Regions from separate parts of the Homo sapiens genome. Here all the other regions are linked to region 4. Evidence: promoter capture Hi-C in 16 types of primary human blood cells and fetal thymus (Javierre and others, 2016). All regions are on one chromosome and are shown on one strand. The core of a region is centred on a gene start or on the middle of the fragment in contact, and the rest is flanking DNA. Distances in the headings are between cores, read along the strand shown.

Region 1 (5,395 bases), core at 2,615-5,114, 250 kb before region 4:
AAACCATGTAATCTGCATCTTCACTTACACCTTGAAGAAGAAAAGCACTGGCCTGCTCAAAGTCAGAACTTATTCTTTGGTGCTTTGCTTCTGACTTCTGTTTGACACCATTTCTTTTCTTTCTTTCTTTATTTTTTTTTGGTGAGACAGGGTCTCGCTCTGTCACGCAGGGTGGAGTGCAGTGGCACAATCACAGCTTACTGTAGCCTGGACCTCCTGGGCTCAAGTGATCCTCCCACCTCAGCCTCCCAAGTAGCTGGGACTACAGGCACAAACCCCTGTGCCCAGCTAATTTATTTTTATTTTTATTTTTTTGTAGAGACAGGTCTCACCATGATGCCCAGGTTGGTCTTGCACTCCCAGGCTCAAGCGAGCCTCCTCCCTCGGCCTCCCACAGTGCTGGGACTACAGGCGTGAGGCACCAGCAGCACAGGTCTCCTGCTTCTCGGTTAATTCCACGTGTTAAAGGCTAATAGTGCTGAATGAAACCTTGCTTTCCACATAAGAGCCATAGATGTATCCTTATCTTTTGTTACTTAGAGGCTTTTTTGTTGTTTGTTTTAAATTTTTGACAGATAGTAGGCATACCTGGCATCCTGGGAGATCCTGTCCCAGATTTCCTCTCTAACAAATATAAAAATGATGGTAATGATGATGTGACATGAAATTGCAATCTCTGCCCAATTAACTGCTTACTTTAAAAAAAGAAAAACTATATGCTTATACAGGAATTCTGCTTCCCAACTACTTACATTATCCATTTTATACCATTTATACAATTTTCTCAGACCACAAAATTTCTTGTCATCTTGCTGGTTGCTTCTGTCAGCAAACTTGTAACATGAAGACAAGTTAAAGATAAATACATCTGAGAAATTTTGTTTTTTGACAGGTAACGGTCAAGCAGATTCTAGATGGTGTCTGAACTTACAAAAATACTTAGTAGCGATGCATTCATTTTAATGTATATACAAAAATAGCTTGAATAAACCTATGGGCTTATTGTTGTTGTTTTGCTAGGTCTAGACTAAGTAACAGAAAGAGAGTAGAATAAAAGAAATCTTTTAAAAAAGTTCAGAGATTACAAGGATACAGTAAAAATCAGGAAAACAGTACTCAAATTTCAAAGTTTAGGGGCAGGGTGTGGTGCCACATGCCTGTAATCCCAGCACTTTGGGAGGCTGAGGCGGGAGGCTTGCTTGAAGCTGGGAGTTCAACAACAGCCTGGCCAACAGTGAGAGTGCCTCTACAAAAAAACAAACAAAAAAAATTTAATAAAAAATAAAAGTTCATGGCCAGATGTGGTGGCTGACGCCTGTAATCCCAGTACTTTGGGAGGCCAAGGCAGGCGGATCACTTGAGCTCAGGAGTTCAAGACCAGCCTGGCCAATGTGGTAACAGAGAACAGCAGGTAGGCACCTGCTGTTTAGGAGGCTGAGGCAGGAGAATTGCTTGAGCCCGGGAGGTGGAGGTTGCAGTGAGCTGAGATTGCACCACTGCACTCCAGCCTGGGTGACAGAAGGAGACTTCGTCTCAAAAAAAAAAAAAAAAAAAAAAAGTTTAGGAAACATGAAAGAATAATAAAAATAAAATTCATAAAATTCATGTGGATTCCTGAAATTTTATAAAAGTGGTATTAGCCTTCATATTTCTCTGAGATAAGGCTTCAGTGGCATGTTGAAAACCTGCTACAGTGGTGGCTGACTCCATATCCTTTAGGGTACTCAAAGCCCAGCGGTGCCTACCTGCTGTTCTTCTCCACTTCGTAGAGGAAAAGCTCGCTGCTGCCACTGCAAACCCTGATGTCAACTCTACTCTCACAAGCTGGGGACCCTATCCCCAGAAATTTCACAGGACCACACACCAGCTCCACAGCCTCCACCTTCTCCTGCTCTGCAAGCCATCCTTGGGTAAGCCTGCTCACTCTCACAGCTTCACCTATGTGGACACACTAAAGGCTCTAAATGTTTTTTCCTACACTACTTCTTGTCTATGCTCTACCTACTGATAATTTTACCCATATGCACTTCAAATTCAACATCTTCAAAATCAAAATCATTCTTCTTCTTTTTTTTTTTTTTTTGGAGATGGAGTCTCACTCTGTTGCCCAGGCTGGAGTGCAATGGCGCGATCTTGGTTCACTGCAACTTCCGCCTCTCAGGTTCAAGCGATTCTCCTGCCTCAACCTCCCAAGTAGATGGGGTTTCACTGTGTTGCCCAGGCTGGTCTCAAACTCCTGAGCTCAGGCAATCCACCAGCCTCGGCCTCCCAAAGTGCTAGGATTACGGGCGTGAGCCACCGTGCCCGGCCCAAACTCATTCTTAATATCTCCCCAATCTCCTTTTCTTATGTCCACGAATAGGTTTAAATCCTTACCATCAATCCCAGACACCCCAATGCCTCCCTATCTTCTAGAAACGCCTTTCCTCCATCCTCACTTCTGTGCTTTACAACAGAACCCTGGCCTCTCTGACATGGATAGGCAGAGCCGCTTCCTGAATGCTCTTTATATTTGGTCTCTTTCTCCTGTACAGGTTTTTTTCTGCATTGCTTCAAGACTAATCTAAGATAAAAATCTACTCTCAAACATCGTAGCCATTAGGGAACTGCAAATTAAAACCACAATCAGATACCAGGCACATCTATAGGAATGGCTAAAATAAACATTATAACATTGAGTACTGGCAACAATGTGGAAAAACTGGATCATTGCTGGTGGGAATGTAAAATGGCACAGACACTCTGGGAAAGAGTACTGCAGTTTCTTACAAACTAAATATGCACTTACCATATGACCCAGCAAGCGCAGTCCTGGGCATTAATCCAGAGAAATAAAAGCTTATGTTCACACAAAATCCTGTAACTGAAGGTTCAGAGCACCTTTATGTATAATTGCCATTAACTGGAAATGACCCATATGTCCTTTAACAAATGAATGGTTAAAGAAGCTATGGTACATCTATAACACGGAATGCTACTCAGCAATACAAAGGAAAGAACTATTGATGCACACAACAAAATTAGATGGCTATCAAGGGAGTTCAGCTGAGTGAAAAAAGCAATCTCGAAAGGTTATATACTATATGATTCAATGTATATAGCATTCTTAAAATGACAAAATTACAGAAATGGAGAAAAGATTAGCAGTTGCCAGAGACTGGGGTTGAGGGGACATGACTGTGGCTATAAAAGGGTAACGAGAGATCCTTGTGATGGAACCTTTGCATCCTGACTGTGGAAGCGGTCACACAAATTTACACCTTTAAAAAATGCATAGAACACAACACACACACACACACACACACACACACACACAAATGAGTGCATATAAAACTGGTGAAATCCTAAAGTCAATGGATTGTATCAATGTCAATCATTATCCTGTTGTGATACTGGACTATAGTTATGCAAGATGTTACCACTGGGGGAAACTGGATGAAGAATATATAGGATCTCTATATTATTTTTTATAATTGCATGTAAATCTACAGTTAGCTCAAAATAAAAAGGTTTTTTTTTTTAATCTCATTAACTTCCAATAGTTCCCTAATGCCCACAGTGAAATATTTCTTAGCATGGCATGCAGAATTTCACCCGACCTATAATCTCTTTACACATCCTATGCCCTGAACAACTAGTTCTAAGAGCTAACATTTATTGAGCACTGGCCATGTGCCAGGTACCATTTTAAATATTTTATATGTATTATCTCATTTACTCCTCAGTGATCCCATGAGTCAGGTACTACTGTCAACCCCATTTTATATACAAATGACGTAAGTAGCTTATCCAAAGTCCCAATATGTCACACGCTCTTTCCATACCTTTGGGTCTGTACTTGTACCGCCTAAAAAGCCTCCCCACCTAATCACCCTTTAAGGCCCTGCCCCAATGTTACCTTCTGACTTTTTCCAGACTTAACTGTTACACTAAATGTGTCTAGCACTCAGATGTAATGGATAGATGTTTAATCAACATAAGGTCTAGACAAAAGGACATGAGGAAGTTATAAAACTGGCACCACGAGAAGCATTTGACACTGATTACATTAAGCCTGTTTCTCTGAAGTTAAACCTGAATGGAAAAGCATTCTATAATACACAGTAGGGTACAGAAAAGACTCATTAGCAAGAAAATGTTCATTAATAAAGCAATGGCTTTAACACAACCAAAGAGGGAAAGGTAGTATCAGGCTAAGGAAAGGCCAGTGTCAGCTGCAAAGTCCATTATCTTTCTCAAATTTTCACATAACAAATACACCAACAAAAACCTCAACTTCCTAAACCTAGTCCATTCTGCCTTATTAGGTACTTTTGTAAGAAAAGGTATAATGCTTTTTTTCCTCAGGAAAAAGAATATTTTCTCGAGGTAAAAACGCATCTTCATTATTTCCCTTGGAGGAAATTAGATTATTATCTAAAGACTGCTTAACTTATGAATTCGCTTGAAAAACATACTGATAATCCCACAACTATCTAGAATTGTTCTGAAATCTGAGTCTCTCCAAAGGATTCACATTTTATTTTATTTTTTATTTTTTTGGAGACGGAGTCTCACTCTGTTGCCCAGGCTGGAGTGCAGTGGCGTGATCTTGGCTCACTGCAACCTCTGCCTCCTGGATTCAAGCAATTCTCCTGCCTCCCTCCTGAGTAGCTGGGAGTACAGGTGCCCACCACCACACCTCACTAATTTTTGTATTTTTAGCAGAGACAGGGTTTCACCGTGTTGGCCAGGCTGGTCTCAAACTCCTGACCTCAAGTGACCCACCCACCTCAACCTCCCAAAGTGCTGGGATTACAAGCATGAGCCACTGTGCCTGGCCAGGTTCACATTTTAAACACACATGACAGAAAGTAGAAGAAAACACCAATTTTGTTTAGGTACATGAATGAAGCTTAATTGGCTTTATATTCCCTGTCATTGACCCCATGACCCCCTCCCCCTCAATAAGTTGTCTTCTGTTAAGTATAGCCTTTTCAGAAGGCACCAACATAGAATAAAAGTGAAAAAGAGGAGAATGCTCAGAACAGACCGGGTGAGAGGGTGACAGCCAGCCTCTCTTCCACTTATTGAGTGCTTACTATGGACCAGAGACTTATCAATAACCATAAATTCTTAACAGTAACCTAAAGCCAATAAAGAAAAACACATTTTTTTTTGAGACTGAGTCTCGCTCTATCGCCCAGGCTGGAGTGCAGTGGCATGATCCCAGCTCACTGCAACCTCCGCCTCTTGGGTTCAAGCGATTCTCGTGCCTCAGCCTCGCAAGTATCTGGGATTATAGGCGCCCGCCACCACGCCTGGCTAATTTTTGTACTTTTAGTAGAGACAGGTTTTCACCATGTTGGTCAGGCTGGTCTCGAACTCCTGACCTCAGATGATCCACCCGCCTCAG
Region 2 (5,028 bases), core at 595-3,094, 200 kb before region 4:
CTCAAAACAAAACAAAACAAAACAAAACAAAAAACAAAAACAAAAGCCTAATAAGCGCACATCACCCCAGATGCCGATTAAATTGTTCCAGGTGGGGCCCAGGTGATGCTAACGTGCAGACGGGGTTACGACCTGCTGCTTTACAAGCTGAGTGGCCCTTGTGCCAAATGAGGCCCAGCTGACTCTGAGCTGCTGCACACCTATAATTTTTAGCTCAAATCTTTTAACTCTAATAGCTAACACACTTAAAAACCGGTAAATTAATATAACCGAATGCCACCAGGTGTCATGTGGCAGATTTGGATAAACTAAAACCATCAAAATGGGCATGCCTATAATTATTAAAATATTGAGCTATTCAAGCTTGATTCCACTAAAACACCACCATACGACTGGGGGACTGAGAAGGAAAATAGGAATGACTCCAAAAGTTCTTGACTCACGTTTCAGTCATATCCAATATTCCCATAACGAACTTGACTCACTCTTGTTTTCAACAACAAAAGAAATTAATGCCGCTGCCCACACACATATGAATTGCTAGTCGGGTAACCCACTTCTGAGAAAACCAGGATACCTTGCTTTAAAAGGATAGAGGAAAATTTGGTTTAGAAGCTCAGTGGGGGAGGACTCCAATTTCGTGGGCGGGAGGCTTGGGAAAACGTCTGCAATGAACTGACCGGCCTCCCTTCCAGTGGACAGCATGCTGCTGGGCATGGACAAGGAGGTGTGGGAGATCACAGACACGTCTCGCAAAGTCATCCAAACCCAGGGGGAGTGGGAGCTCTTGGGCATCAACAAGGCCACCCCAAAGATGTCCATGGGCAACAACCTATATGACCAGATCATGTTTTATGTGAGTCCAGGGGCCCCTGTTTGACTTCTGATCCCAGCAGCTCTTTGATTGTCCTCTTGACCTATGGCTCTTTGGGAAGCAAAAAAGAAGCTCCAGGCCGGGTGCAGTGGCTCACACCTGTAATCCCAGTACTTTGGGAGGCCGAGGGAGGCGGATCATGAGGTCAGGAGTTCAGGACCAGCCTGGCCAACATGGTGAAACCCCGTCTCTAATTTAAAAAACACAAAAATTAGCTGGGTGTGGTGGCACATGCCTGTAGTCCCAGCTACTCGGGAGGTTGAGACAGGAGAATCACTTGAACCCAGGAGGCGGAGGCTGCAGTGAGCTGAGATAATGCCACTGCACTGCAGCCTGGGCAAGACAGAATAAGACTCCGTCTCAAAAAATAAAATAAAATAAAAATAAAGCTCCAGAGGGTTGGGCACCTGCTCCCCACTGCCCCATCTACCTAATTGCCCTGAAGCAGGATCCCCAAGGCCTCCCCCACTCCCCATTTGCCCACTCCTCATTCACCCACTCCTGCTCTGGAGAGGGCAGGAATGGCTGGACTGTAATAAGCCCTGCTGCTCAGAATGGATCAGCTCACCCCTACTGCTCAGAATGACTTAAAGGGCCCACTTGCACCTAAAATTCTACAGTCATTGTGTTCCTAGTAGGTTAAAAATGAATAAAAATTAGACAACAAATCAGAGGCCCCTATGTAGGCGAGCACAATTATATGCAAAAGTGTTACTTAAAAAGATCGTCCCCAGCAGCCTCACAGCACATTGGCAAAGATTAGGGGTCAGATATACAAATTGAGCCCTCTGACATCTATTTATTTGCCATCTTCTCCGGTCTCTCTCCAGGTGGCCATCAGGCGCAGGCCAAGCCTCTACATCATAAACCTGCTGGTGCCCAGTAGCTTTCTGGTTGCCATTGATGCCCTCAGCTTCTACCTGCCAGCAGAGAGCGAGAATCGTGCCCCATTCAAGATAACACTTCTGCTGGGCTACAACGTCTTCCTGCTCATGATGAATGACTTGCTCCCTGCCAGTGGCACCCCCCTCATCAGTATGGCTCCTCCCACTTTCAGGAGGAGAAAGGGCACCCGGGGCCAGGGAGGAGGGCCAGGAGAAATGGCCGCTGCTCCACTGAAGGAAGGAAGGGGCTGTGAAAGAAGATTGGATTTAGGAAAGAGGCGTGAGGAATGCTTAGAGATAAATTTGCCTGGTTTATTTATAATTTGCTCTGCCCTCAGGTGTCTACTTCGCCCTGTGCCTGTCCCTGATGGTGGTCAGCCTGCTGGAGACCGTCTTCATTACCTACCTGCTGCACGTGGCCACCACCCAGCCCCCACCCATGCCTAGGTGGCTTCACTCCCTGCTGCTCCACTGCACCAGCCCAGGGAGATGCTGTCCCACTGCGCCCCAGAAGGGAAATAAGGGCCTGGGTCTCACCCTCACCCACCTGCCTGGTGAGGGAAGCCAGCACTGTCCATACTCGCCCTTCACACTGGGCCCAGCACTCCTCTAATCCTGTCCCCTTCCCACTCCATGACTGAGCCTCTGTCCTCTCCACAGGCCCAAAGGAGCCGGGGGAGTTAGCAGGGAAGAAGCTGGGACCCAGAGAGACCGAGCCAGATGGGGGCTCAGGATGGACAAAGACCCAGCTAATGGAGCTGTGGGTGCAGTTCAGCCACGCGATGGACACCCTGCTCTTCCGCCTCTACCTGCTCTTCATGGCCTCCTCCATCCTTACTGTCATTGTCCTCTGGAACACCTAGGCAGACATCCCCCCTCTCTGGCAAACAACAGCTTGGAGTTTCTGCTGGTCTTGGGCCAGCCGGACTCATTTTCCTAATCTTAGCCACTTATCCCCAGTGACTACCATGTCCCCTTCTAAATTCCAAAGACTCCAACGCAGCACTAGCAAGCAGGTTCGGGACAGCCCTGGACGATTTCCCGACCGCTGCTCAGGCTGCTCATTCCTGCTCACCCTCAGTCTCCCTGAGCTACCACCTAACTCCTCACTCCCTGATCAATGGAAGTCCAGGTCAGTGGAGTCTCTCCTTGATTGATCACCCCAATAAACAACTTTCCAGGAAGCACTGGCTCTTCAGTTTGTTTGTTTGTTTGTTTGTTTGTTTGTTTATTGAGACAGAGTCTCACTCTGTCACCCACACTAGAGTGCAAATGATGCCATCTCAGCTCACTGCAACCTCCGCCTCCCAGGCATGATTCTCATGCCTCAGCTTCCCAAGTAGCTGGGATTACAGGTGCACACCACCACACCCAGGTAATTTTTGTATTTTTAGTAGAGACAGGGTTTTGCCATGTTGGCCAGGCTGGTCTGGAACTCCTGACCTTAAGTGTTCCGCCCACCTCGGCCTCCCAAAGTGTTGGGATTACAAGCGTGAGCCACCTCGCCCAGCCCTCTTCATTATATTTATTATAAGTCTACAAACTCTGCGGTGGAGAGTCCTCTTGCAGAAGCTTTGATACTTCCCCCTAAGCAGGTGTAATCTGATGTGATTTTAAGGGTTTTAGATACTTTCAGAGTTTTATAAGAATAAGAAGGCCAAGTCTTATTTGCAAGAAATTATTTCATTTGCAATAAAATATTTACAAATGCAAAATGTTCCTTTCAGCAACCATTTCTTTTTCACTTTCCTTTACCTCTCATTCCTGAAATTGCTCTTTGAAATAAATCATATCTTGTGTCATTCTTTTTTATTCTAACAGGTTTCTCTTACTTCACAACATCAAACAGAGCGGGCTTTCTAAATATGTGTGCTTGAGGCTGGGGGGTTCATGCCTGTAATCCCAGCACTTTGGGAGGCCGAGGAGAGAGGCTAGGAGTTTGAGACCAGCCTGGGCAACAAAGCGAGACCTTGTCTCTACAAAAATAATAATTAACTAATTAATTAATTAAAAATTAGCCAGGTGCAGTGGTACATGCCTGTAGTCCTAGCTACTCGAGGGACTAAGGTAGGAGGATCGCTTGAACCCAGTTCAAAGTTACAGGGAGCCACGATCGCACCCTTGCAATCCAGCTTGGGCAACAGAGCAAGAACCAGTCTCTTAAAAATAAAATGAAACGAAGAAAGGTTTTTTAAGTTCCCTGTTAATAGTAGTTCACAGCAGGGCTCGGTAGCTCACACCTGTAATCTTAGCACTTTGGGAGCCCAAGGTGGATGGATTGCAAGGTCAGGAGTTCGAGACCAGCCTGGCCAATATGGTGAAACCCCATCTCTACTAAAAATACAAAAGCTAGCTGGGCATGGTGGTGTGCACCCGTAGTCCCAGCTACTCGGGAGGCCGAGGCAGAAGAATTGATTGAACCTGGGAGGCAGAAGTTGCAGTGAGCCGAGATTGTGCCACTGCACTCCAGCCTGGGTGATAGAGCAAGACTCTGTCTCAAAAATAATAATAATAATATAGTAGTTCACACCTTCATCAACAGCTATAATCATGGGAGAATTCTAATAGCTAGCTGCAAGAAAGACCCTGAGGAGAAACAGAAATTGAAAGAGAAAGTCAAAAAACACCAGCGACAAATTTCTGGATGATATTTCAATTGGATAAACACATTTCAGGGATTTATTTGTTGGCCCTTCTGCCTCCCCTAAGAGTATGCTTTCATAAAGATCAGGGTCAACGTCTCATCCATTTTTATAGTTTAGCACATGGTACCACATCTGGCACATCGTGGATACTTAACACAGACTTGGGGGTTTTTTTTTGTTTTTTTTCTTTCCAACTTTTAGGTTCAAGGGGTACATGTGCAGGTTTGTTACCTGGGTAAATTACATATCGCAGGGGTTTGGTGTACAGATAATATTGTCATCCAGGTAATCAGCTTAATACCCGACAGGTTAGGGTTTTTTTTGTTGTTGTTGAGATGGAGTTTTGCTCTTGTTGCCCAGGCTGGGGTGCAATGGTGCGATCTTGGCTCATGGCAAATTTCGCCTCCCAGGCTCAAGCTATTCTCCTGCCTCAGCCTCCCAAGTAGCTGGGATTACAGGCATGTGCCACCACGCCCAGCTAATTTTGTATTTTTAGTAGAGATGTGGTTTCTCCATGTTGGTCAGGCTGGTCTCAAACTCCTGACCTCAAGTGATCCACCTGCCTCAGCCTCCCAAAGTGTTGGGATTACAGGCCTGAGCCACTGCACCTAGCAGTACTAGGTTT
Region 3 (5,577 bases), core at 2,681-5,180, 160 kb before region 4:
CAAACAAAAACAAACTAAAAACCACATAGTCCTGGAAGTTCTAGCCAGAGCAAGTAAGCAAGAAAAAGAAACAAAAGGCATCCAAATTGGAAAAGAAAGAGTAAAATTATCTCTGTTTGCAGATGATGTTATTTTATATGTACAAAATACAAAAGATCTCACAAAAACTAGTAGCACTAAAACTAATACATGAATTTAGCAAAGTATCAGGATACAAAGCAAACAAACATCAGTTGCATTTCTATACATTAGCAATGAATGATCAGAAAAGGAAATTACAAAAATCAATTCCATTTACGATGGCATCAAAGGAAAAAAATACTTGGGAATTAACTTAGCCAAAGAAGTAAAATTCTTGTACAATGAAAACTATAAAACATTGCTGAAAGAAATTTTTAAAAAATATAAACAAGTGGAAACACATCTCATGTTTATGGATTGGAAGACACAAAATTGTTAAAATGTCAATACTACTTAAAGCAATGAACAGACTCAATGCAATTCCTATCAAAATCCCAATGACAATTTTTGCAGAAATAGAAAAACCCATCCTAAAATTCATACGGAATGTCAAAGGACCTTGAATACTTGAAACAATCTTTAAAAAGAAAAATGAAGCTGGAAGATTCACACTCCCTGATTTCAAAACATACTACAGGCTGGGCACGGTGGCTCACACCTGTAATCACAGCGCTTTGGGAGGCTGAGGCGGGAAGATCACCTGAGGTCAGTAGTTTGAGACCAGACTGACCAACATGGTGAAACCTCGTCTCTACTAAAAATACAAAAATTAGCTGGTCGTGGTGGCATGCACCTGTAATCCCAGCTAGTTGGGAGGCTGAGGCAGGAGAATCACTTGAATCCAGGAGGTGCGGGTTGCAGTGAGCCAAGATTGTGCCATTGCACTCCAGCCTGGGCGACAGAGTGAGACTCTGTCTCAAATAATAAAAAAAAAAAGGCTGGGCACAGTGGCTCACACCTGTAATCACCGCTACACAGGAGGCTGAGGCAGACGGATCACCTGAGGTTGGGAGTTCAAGGCCAGCCTGACCAACATGGAGAAACCCCATCTCTACTAAAAATACAAAAAATTATCCAGGCATGGTGGAGCATGCCTGTAATCCCAGCTACTCGGGAGGCTGAGGCAGGAGAATTGCTTGAACCTGGGAGGCGGAGCTTGTGGTGAGTGGAGATCGTGCCATTTCTCTCCAGCCTGGGCAACAAGAGTGAAACTACGTCTCAAAAAAAAAAAAAAAAAAAGAGACAGACATGTATAGCAATGGAATAGAATAGAGAACCCAGAAATAAACCGTCACACAAATGGCCAAATTATTTTTGCAAGAGTTCCAATGGGGAAAAGACAGACTTTTCAAGTAGTAGTATTGGGAAAACTGGATATCCATATGCAAAGAAATGAAGTTTGACCCTTACCTAAAACCATATACCAAAATTAACTCAAAATGGATAAAATATTTTACATGTAGGGCTGGACGCGGTGGCTCACTCCTGTAATCCCAGCACTTTGGGAGGCTGAGGCGGGCAGATCACCTGAGGTGGGGAGTTCGAGTCCAGCCTGACCAACATGGAGAAACCCCGTCTCTACTAAAAATACAGAATTAGCTGGGGGTAGTGGCACATGCCTGTAATCCCAGCTACTTGAGAGGCTAAGGCAGGAGAATCACTTGAACCCAGGAGGTGGAGGTTGCAGTGAGCTGAGATCATGCCATTGCACTCAGCCTGAGCAACAAGAGTGAAACTCCGTCTCAAAAAAAAAAAAGAAGATTTAAGTGTAGACCTAAAACAATAAAACTCCTAAAAGAACACATAGGGAAAAAGCTTCAAAACATTGGAGTTAGCAGTGATTTCTTGGATATGACACAAAGGCATAGGCAACAAAAGAAAAAATAGACAAATAGTACTTCATGAAAATATTAAACATCTATGAATCAAAAGACACTATTAACAGAGGAAAGAAGACAACCCACAAAATGGGAGAAAACATTTGCAAATTATATAGCTGATAAGGGATTAATATCCAAACTATACATAGAATTCCTGAAACTCAACAACAAAAAACAACTTGATTTAAAAATGGGTAAAAGGTTAGCCATAGTGGTTCATACCTGTAAATTCCAGTGATTTGGGAGGCTGAGGCAGGAGGATTGCTTGAGGCCAGGAGTTCAACACCAGCCTGGGCAGCATAGCAAGGCCCTGTCTCTAGAAACAATAAAAAAAAATTAGCCACACATGGTGGCATGCACCTGTAGTCCCAGCTACTTGGGAGGCTGAGGTGGCAGGATTGCTTGAGCCCTGGAGTTCAAGGCTACAGTGAGCTATGATCATACCACTGTACTCCAGCCTGGGAGACAGTGAGACCCTGTCTCTAAAAAAAACAAAACAAAACAAAAAGCAAAACTCAGTGGACAGATTAGACACAGCTGAGGGCCGGGCACGGTGGCTCACGTCTGTAATCCCAGCATGGTGGCTCACAGTTGAGGGCCAGGCATGGTGGGAGACAGTGAAACCCTCTCTCTAAAAAACAAAAAAACAAAAAAACAAAACCAAAACTCAGTGGGCAGATTAGATGGACAGATTAGACACAGTTGAGGGTCAAGCACAGTGGCTCACTCCTGTAATCCCAGCACTTTGGAAGGCCGAGGTGGGCAGATCAGCTGAGGTGAGGAGTTCAAGACCAGCCTGGACAACATGGTGAAACCCTGTCTCTAATAAAAATACAAAAATTAGCTGGGTGTGGTGGCACAAGCCTGTAGTCCCAACTACTCAGGAGGCTGAGACAGGAGAATCGCTCAAATCAAGGAGGTGGAGGCTGTAGTGAGCCAAGATCACGCCACTGCACTCTAGCCTGGGCAACAGAATGAGACTCCATCTCAAAATAAAATAAAATATGGAAGGCATCCATACTTGCATTTTGCATTCTTCGTATGTAATCATATTGTCAAAGACAAATTATGTCATAATCTATTGTAAATAACACTTTTCCCCAGACCTACCATAAAGTTTCTGCAATGTATTGTCTTCCAGTTGCAATAAAAATTACTGAGTTTCATCAAAAATTAATTAATTAATTAATTAAAATAAACACAGTTGAGGAGAGAATTTTTTTCCTGGAAGCTAGATCTGAAGAAATCATTAGGGACAGAGATAAAGAGGTAGAAAATAGGAAAGAGAGGTGTGCTAGGCAGAATAACGGCCCCCAGAATTTGTCCACATCCTAATCTCTGGAACCTTAGGTTATATGGAAAAGGGGAGTTAAGGTTGCAGATGGAATTAAGGTTGTTAATTATCGGACTTTGAGATGGGGAGACTATCCTGGATTATCCAAATGGACACAATGCAATCACAAAGGCTCTTATAAGTGGAAGAAGGAGAGAGAAACAAATAAGAACCAGAGAGATGAGATGCCTTGTGAGAAACATTGGCCTGATGTTGCTGGTTTTGAAGATGGAGAAGTAAAAATAATGAACCAAGAAATACAGGCAGTTTAAAAGCTGGAAAAGGCCGGGTACAATGGCTCATGTCTATAATCCCAGCACTTTGGGAGATCAAGGTTGGAGGATCACTTGAGGCCAGGAGTTGGAGACAAGCCTAGGCAACAAAGCGAGACCTCATTTCTACTAAAAAAAAAAAAAATAGCCAAGCTTGGTGGCTCACACCTGTGAGGTCCCAGCTACTTGGGAGGCTGAGACGGAAAGATCCCTTGAGCCCAGGAGGTCAAGGCTGCAGTGAGTCGCGATTGCGCCACTGCACTCCAGCCTGGTCAACAGAGTGAAACCCTGTCTCAAAAAAAAAAAAATCTGGAAAAGGCAAGGAAATGGATTCTCCTCTAGAGCCTCCAGAGGGAATGCGGTCCTGCTGACACATTCATTTTAGCCCAGTGAGACCCATTTCAAACTTCTGGCCCACAGAACAGTAAAATAACAAATTGTGTTTATTTAAGCCACTGGGTTTGTGATTTGTTACAACAGCAATAAAAGGCATGTAAGATAGAAGGAAACCATTCAACACATGTCTAATAAGAAAAATAGAGGAAGTGAAACATTTATAAATGTCTGAGAATTTTCCAAAATTGAAGAGATGAGTCTTCAGACCAAGGGATCTCACCAAGATCTGCAAGTTGATCACGTATGAACTATCTATAACCATTTACGTTGCAGTGAAATACCTAAGACTAAGATAAAGTCTTAAAAGCAGACTGAACCTTAAGCATAGGCAAGAACAAGACAACCAGAACACTCTTTGAAGGAAGGTTACAAATGTCAGTGGTCAACCAATGCTATTAGTATTCAAAGTCAGACTCTAGGTGTGGCCTGTGCTGCTTTAATCTGGGCATTCCTGGGTCCCAGTACATGTTCAGAGAAGAACTTAGACAAAGAAGATGGAAGGAAGCTGGTTCCACAGGAAAAGATTTTCCTTCTACCTCCTTCTCGGTTTTCTGCTTCAAGGTAAGAAAGGAGCAATGATGGGGGAAGGCGGAAGAAGGAGGACCTCTCTCTAGTAGAACATCTAGGAACTTTTTTCAAATTTCCAACTCCTAGAGATTGTCTAAGATGGATAGAGTTCTTTCATAGCTACATTACTAAGATGCCCACATAGACTTTCCTTTTCTGAAAGACGGAAAATCCCCTTCCAGTTACATGCCAAACAAGAGCACTTTCATTTTCCTTCTCGAAAAATAGAGTTCAACACCAGCAAACTTTATCCTTTCACATATGGATATCCAGTTTTCCCAATACTACTTGAAAAGTCTGTCTTTTCTCCATTGGTACCCTACATGGAAGACAACCATCCACGATCGTCTTCTCTTGTATTTAGCTTCTATATCCATCCATCTTTCTATCCACAGGTGTAATTCTTTCTCTCTACAGGTATGAAACCCAAACCATTGTAGCAAAGTGCCCACCTCCTTTAGCCATAATTTCCCTGTCCATCTGCTGGATCCAAGGGCTCTAGGTTAGGTAAGGTGCCAGAAGGCAGCAGGTCAAGGGTGAAAGTAGAATGTGCTTCTCTTCCAGGGGGTCAGCATGGTAGAGAGACAAGAACATGGGATTTGGAGACAGGTGGACCTGGGTTTGAATCTTGGTGTCTCACGTTGCTAGTTTTATAAACTTGGATGCACTGCTTAACTTATCTGAGCTCTGGTTTCCTCATCTGTAAAACAGAACCTACCTTGCAGGGTTGTGAGGATTCAGTAAGAGAAGGAGGGAAGCACAGTGTCTGGCACTTGGTAAAAGTGCCAATAACTGTCATCTCTCCTCGTTAGATTATTCCATGACTTTGGATAAGGAGGCACAGGAGAGGACTGAACCAGAGGTGACTTTAAAGGCCAGCACAGGGAAGAGACACAAATTGTACACCTGGTCTAGGCAGTGTAAATGGTTATGAAAGCTCCTCTGGGCACTTGCACACAGGGGTTGACAAATGAATATTCACTGTTCTTAGAGTGGTTTAAGAATTTGCTGGAAAGCACTGTGACGTTGGGAATGGATAAGGCTCAATGTCCTTGGCACAGAGGTTATCAACCATCTCTCTCAGTCCAAGTTGTTGCTCCTCCAACAC
Region 4 (5,346 bases), core at 211-2,710:
CGCCGGCCCGCGCTCCTGGCCGCTGCGAGGCTGGGCCCGGAGCCCGCCGCCCGAGCCGGCGCGTCTACACTCCGGACGGCGGCTTCTCCCCCATCCCCTTCAGCACGTCGTCTATCCGGTCATCCTCGATCACCACTGCGCAGGGAGAAAGCGCGTCAGCCGCGCGGCCTCGGGGGGCGGCGGCGATGAGAATGAGCCCCGCGTCCTAGCTTCCCGCGCAGCTACTGCCCGTGGCCCAGCGACGCCCCTCGGAACCCTGTGCCGCGGTGTCCTCCCCGTCCGAACTCTTCTGGAGACCCAACCCGCCGCCAAGCCTAGACCCCCTCCCCTCCCGATGGCGGAACGCCCCTCTTCCAAAGGCTCCAGCTATTCTCCCTCCCAGTGCGAGCCCTCCTGCCACCTGAGCCTTCCTCCCTCTGAGTTGATCAGAAACCTCTTGCTCACGGAATCCCCCTCTTCAACCCGCACTTCAACAGATCCCCCTGCTCAAATGGGGCTCAAACCGAGTATCCAGCTGGTCCAGCCCTCTCCTCAACCTGAGCCCTCTCGCCGCTGGAACCCCTCTTCCGATCCTGGCACCAACAGAGCTCCCCTCCCCATGCAAACAACCAAGACAAGCGGACCCCCGGCCTCCTGCCCTCTCTTGTTAGACGTCCCTCTCGACCCGAAGGTTCTTCGTATTGTCCACCGACTCAGTATTTGATCCCAAAGAATCAGCCCGTTACCCCGTGCTCCCACTTCCGTGCAGCCCCAAATGCCCCGACCGGCCCCTCCCCCTCGCCCGGGTGCCAGGGCTCTGCTTCCAGAGGTGGCGAGCATCGAATCCGGGGCACCGTGTTCCCGGGAGAAGGGAAGAGGGGGACACACACTGCAGCGGGGACCCCCCCCTCCAGCCCGGGCTGGAGAGCGGCTGGTGCGCTGGTCTGCGGCAAGAGCTGCGGGCACTCGGCGGGGAACGGCAGCCGGGGGGCGCCCGGCGGAGGGTTTCTGGGTCAGGCGGCGACTCCGGGCCCGGGCCGCGTACCTCGCTTGGCTCGGCCGATCTGGCCCAGCTTGGGGGGTCGCTTGGCCTGGTTGCCCGCGAAGAAGGAGTTGGTGTCCTGCAGGCGGCAGCTGAAGGAGAGGTCGGAGCCCTCGGGGTCTGCGCCGAAGCGGCCCATCTTGTCTTCGCTGTAGGGCAGGATCTCGGACATGGCGGGCGCGGGGTGGGCGCGGGGCGGGAGCGGGACTGCGGCGGGGCGCGGGCGGCGGGCTTGCTGCCGGACCGGCCCTACCTCAGCAGGGGAGCCGGCGGAAGGATGAAGTCATGCAGCATCCGGGGCTGAGGAGCCAAGCGGGGCCTCCTCCCCCGCGCCTCCGCCTCCCGGGCCGCTGGGCAGGCGGCGGCGGCGGCGGTGGCGGGGACCGGGCGGGGGCGGGGGCGGGGGGCGGGGGTGGCGGCGGCGGCGGCAAGAGCGGAATGACGATGAGCGCCCGACTGCGGCAGAGCACGGCGGGCGGGGCGCGGTGGAGGCGGGGCGGGCACTGGCCAGGGGAAAGAGGCGGGGCCGGGGGCAGGAGCGCGCCCAGCTACCCCGGGAACAGAGGCAGCTGGAGTGGGAGGTTCCCGCACTGTGGCGGGGAATGGCCAGCACGTGGGTCTTGGGGAATAGTACCAGCCAACCCGGCCGGGACCTCGCGGGGAGGGGCGGGACCGAAGGGGGGTGGGATCGAGCCTGGTACTGGAGGAGCTTGGAGGAGGGTCTGACCCCTAGGCTGGGAGAGGCGTGCAAGGGGGACTGGGAGCAGGAGGGCAAAAGCTGGCCGGGCGCGTTGGGGCGGGAAGGCGGCCGCAGGGCTGGCAATGGAAAGCGGGGAGCGGGAAATGCGCGGGGAGGAGACTCGGGTACAGGGTGACTGGGGAAGGCACGAACCCACAGCGCGGGAAGAGCTCGGGCCAGTGGGATGGTGCCCTTGCCGCTGACGCGCTCTTGTACTAGTTGCTCTGCTGGTCTTAAGTAGATCGTCAGGGTCCGTGCGCCTCTGAGTGCCGGTCTGTGTCTCTGTCTCCGCCTTTGTGTGTGTCAGTCCATCTCTAAGTGTCTGTATCTCTCTGTCTCTGTGCCCCGTATCTCTTTCGCTGTGTTATGGCCTTTGTCTATGCCTGTCCCTTAAGTGTCTGCCTTTCTCTATCTATCTCCATTCTTGACTCCTGTATCTCTGTGCCAGTGTCTCCGTCTCCTGAATCTGGGTATTTCAGTCTCTCCTAGGAGGGGTCTATAGAAACTGGGCCGACGCGCGCGCACCAGGGCAGACACCCCCAGCCCTAGTCCGGTGGCTGTAGCCCCCCGCGGCTCTGGAGTGGTGCGCTCGCAGTGTAGGAGGAATGAATGGCGGCGTCGCGGGGGGCGCCCTGGGCTGCGGGTGACGCGGGGAAGCTCGGAGCACCTGAGGACGCGGAGCGCGCCAGTGTGTGCCCCGAGGGAGTGCGGTAGAGATGGAGGGTGCCCCCCGCCCTCGTTGCTTTGGACCACGGGTGAGTTCTCGCCTCACCGATGGGAACATGCCCTCTTCTCCCCTTGCCTCCCGCCCCCACAACCCCCGCCCTGGCTGGCCGTCACCCGCGGCGTCACCTGCTTGCCAGCGCGCAGGAGCTCTGGCGCAATCACTGGCCTTGGGGAGGAGGGGGTGTCTCACATGCGGCGACAGTGACGGCAGCGCTGAAAACGGTAATGATCACCCTGTACGTTCATTCCACACTCCAGGCGAACGCGCTTTCCTTCCTTAATCTGGCCAAATTACCAAATCACACAGCTGGTGAGGCTGCCTTGTAGTGGGTCTCCTTCCAACACTTTCTCGCCAGGTGTTAATACCGGAGACACAGGGACAAACGCAATGGTGGCTGCCCAGGGAACTGGATGGGGGGGGCGGTATGCCACAGGATACCTTGATGCCAGCCTCACTCAAGGGCCCAGGCCTGGGGGCCCATCACTATGAAGCCCTCCTCTGCTCTGTCCTAGTCTCCGGGATGAGGGCCACAGCTGGAGGTGGAGGCCCAGCCTGGAGTGAGAGGAGCCCTGAAACTGGAAGGACAATAAAGGCGGAAGACTGGGGTCACTGGAAGAGAGTCCAGAAAATTCCACATACACTGGAAGTTGTCCAGTAATGGGTTCCAATCCTGACTCCCACTTTCTCAGTGACCTTGAACTGAAGGACCCATAATCATGGTTTTAAAAAATTAATTCGTTTGTACTTAAAACATTTTAGGAGGCCGGGCTCAGTGGCTCACGCCTGCAATACCAGCACTTTGGGAGGCCGAGGTGGGTGGATCACCTGAGGTCAGGAGTTTGAGACCAGCCTGATCAACATGGCAAAACCCTGTCTCTACTAAAAATACAAAAAAAATTAGCCAGGTGTGGCACACACCTGCAGTCCCAGCTACTTGGGAGGCTGAGGCACAAGAACCGCTTGACCTAGGGTGGCAAAGGTGGCAGTTGGCGGACATTGGGCCATTGCACTCCAGCCTGGGTGACAAAGCGAGGCGAGACTCCGTCTCAATAAAAGAAAGAGAGAGAGAGAGAGAGAGAGAGAGAGAGAGAGAGAGAGAGAGAGAGAAAGGAAGGAAGGAAGGAAAAAAATTTTAGGAAAATTAAGAAAATCACATAACATCTTTTTTTTTTTTTTTTTTTTTGACACGGAGTCTTGCTCCGTTGCCCAGGCTGGAGTGCAATGGCGCGATCTTGGCTCACCATAACCTCTACCTCCCAGGTTCAAGCGATTCTCCTGCCTCAGCCTCCCGAGTAGCTGGGACTACAGGCACACGCCACCATGCCCAGCTTTTTTTTTTTTTTTTTTTTTTTTTTTTTTTTGAGATGGAGTCTCACTCTGTCGCCAGGCTGGAGTGCAATGGCGCCATCTCAGCTCACTGCAACCTCCCCCTCCTGTGTTCAAGTGATTCTCATGCCTCAGCCTCCTGGGTAGCTGGGACTACAAGTGTGTGCCACCACTCCCAGCTAATTTTTGTATTTTTAGTAGAGACAGGGTTTCACCATGTTGGCCAGGATGGTCTCAATCTCTTGACCTCGTGATCCGCCCACTCGGCCTCCCAAAGTATTGAGATTACAGGTGTGAGCCACTGCGCCCTGCCAGTCTTTGTATTTTTTGTAGAGATGAGGTTTCACTATGTTGGCCAGGCTGGTCTTGAACTCCTGACCTCGCGATCCGCCCGCCTTGGCCTCCCAAAGTGCTGGGATTATAGGCATGAGCTACCACACCCGGCCTTATAACTATATATATATATATATATCCTTCTAGTCTTTTCACCATGTGTCTGCATGATATGATACCTCTGTAAGCCCCATGTTCTAGTCTGAAGCATGGGGATGATAAAACCTACTTATTAAGGAACGTTTTGCTGGGCAACATTCATGGCTCACACCTATGAATTCCGCCACTCAGAAGGCTGAAGCAGAAGGATCGCTTGAAGCCAGGAGTTGGAGACCAGGCTGGACAACATAACTAGGCCCCATCTCTAAATAAATAAGTAAATAAATAAGCAAGCCGGGTATGGTGGTACACACCTGTGGTCCCAGCTACTTGCAAGGCTGTGGTAGAAGGATCACCTGGGCACAGGAGTTTGAGGCTGCAGTGAGCCATAATGGTGCCACTGCACTCTGGCCTGGGTGACAGAGCAAGACCCTGACTCAAAAAAGAAAGAAAAGGACAGTTTTGTAGATGAAACTGTCCTGGGGTAAAGTGGGTTGTCTCGGGAGGTAGTGAGCTGCCCCTCACCTAAAATGCCAAAGAAGAGGCATGAGGGTTCTTGCCAAGGATGAGATAAGAGTATTGTGTGAGGAATTGAAACAATTCTCCTTTCTCTCTGCACAATGAGGGAGATTGGAAAAATGACAGTTTAATCCAGAATTCACTTGGTTACCTCCTTCTTAAATAATTATATTCCCGTCCCGGCCGTGCCTGCTGGATCATGGTTAAAGCAAAAGTCCTAAGTACAAACCTGTGGACTATTATGATATATAAGCTTCAGCTATGTTGTAAAAATGTGGGGATTTCTTTAAATTCTGCTCCTCTCTTTAAAATTCTGATATTCTGCTTCCTTCCCATGAGAGGAAAATACATTTTCACTAAAATGAAATAAAGCTTGTATAGAGTTGCGTGACAGTGCATTGAGTCTCTCAATTGGAAGTCCCTCAAACCTAGTATACTTGTCCACGTGCTCTACACAGATAACATGCCTTTTGACAATTGAGTATTAGTGACACTTTTAGTCAAGTGGAAACTGTAGACCCCTGTAGTGGATTGAATAGGGACTCCCACAACAATTCAATGTTCACCTGTAACCTCAAAGTG

The links. Contacts are between HindIII fragments. The CHiCAGO score rates a contact against its expected background, and 5 or more counts as called.
Region 1: a contact is called between a fragment that was not itself captured here and the fragment with the promoter of CAMK2N2 in region 4, in 1 of 17 cell types (endothelial precursors). The highest score is 5.9, in endothelial precursors.
Region 2: a contact is called between a fragment that was not itself captured here and the fragment with the promoter of CAMK2N2 in region 4, in 1 of 17 cell types (M1 macrophages). The highest score is 5.3, in M1 macrophages.
Region 3: a contact is called between the fragment with the promoter of HTR3E here and the fragment with the promoter of CAMK2N2 in region 4, in 6 of 17 cell types (M1 macrophages, M0 macrophages, endothelial precursors and 3 more). The highest score is 15.6, in M1 macrophages.

What each region holds. Positions count from the first base shown.
Region 1 is chr3:184,008,732-184,014,126 of GRCh38, forward strand. The region is part of intron 2 of ABCC5 (ATP binding cassette subfamily C member 5); the gene reads right to left. ABCC5-AS1 (ABCC5 antisense RNA 1) reads left to right here. Exons shown (of 3, transcript NR_046570.1): 2 at 1,720-1,910; 3 at 2,535-2,688. It overlaps LOC124909468 (a long non-coding RNA gene), which reads right to left and starts at 1,220. Exons shown (of 2, transcript XR_007096191.1): 1 at 1,094-1,220; 2 at 1-833. RefSeq lists an enhancer at 1,675-2,874. The HindIII fragment of the contact is 2,056 bases long and covers 2,837-4,892 here.
Region 2 is chr3:184,057,732-184,062,759 of GRCh38, forward strand. It overlaps HTR3C (5-hydroxytryptamine receptor 3C), which reads left to right. Exons shown (of 9, transcript NM_130770.3): 6 at 696-856; 7 at 1,705-1,909; 8 at 2,097-2,312; 9 at 2,419-2,942. The coding sequence ends at 2,621. Among named protein-coding and RNA genes, the nearest start is that of HTR3C, 7.2 kb to the left of the region's middle. The HindIII fragment of the contact is 2,967 bases long and covers 362-3,328 here.
Region 3 is chr3:184,093,134-184,098,710 of GRCh38, forward strand. It overlaps HTR3E (5-hydroxytryptamine receptor 3E), which reads left to right and starts at 3,931. Exons shown (of 9, transcript NM_001256613.2): 1 at 3,931-4,463. The coding sequence starts at 4,397. HTR3E-AS1 (HTR3E antisense RNA 1) reads right to left here. Exons shown (of 3, transcript NR_133658.1): 3 at 1,985-2,217. The HindIII fragment of the contact is 4,461 bases long and covers 3,658-5,577 here.
Region 4 is chr3:184,260,093-184,265,438 of GRCh38, forward strand. It overlaps CAMK2N2 (calcium/calmodulin dependent protein kinase II inhibitor 2), which reads right to left and starts at 1,461. Exons shown (of 2, transcript NM_033259.3): 1 at 1,025-1,461; 2 at 1-135. The coding sequence starts at 1,193. The coding sequence ends at 65. The region is part of intron 2 of EEF1AKMT4-ECE2 (EEF1AKMT4-ECE2 readthrough); the gene reads left to right. RefSeq lists enhancers at 1-115, 116-667, 2,553-3,315. The HindIII fragment of the contact is 12,942 bases long and covers 1-5,015 here.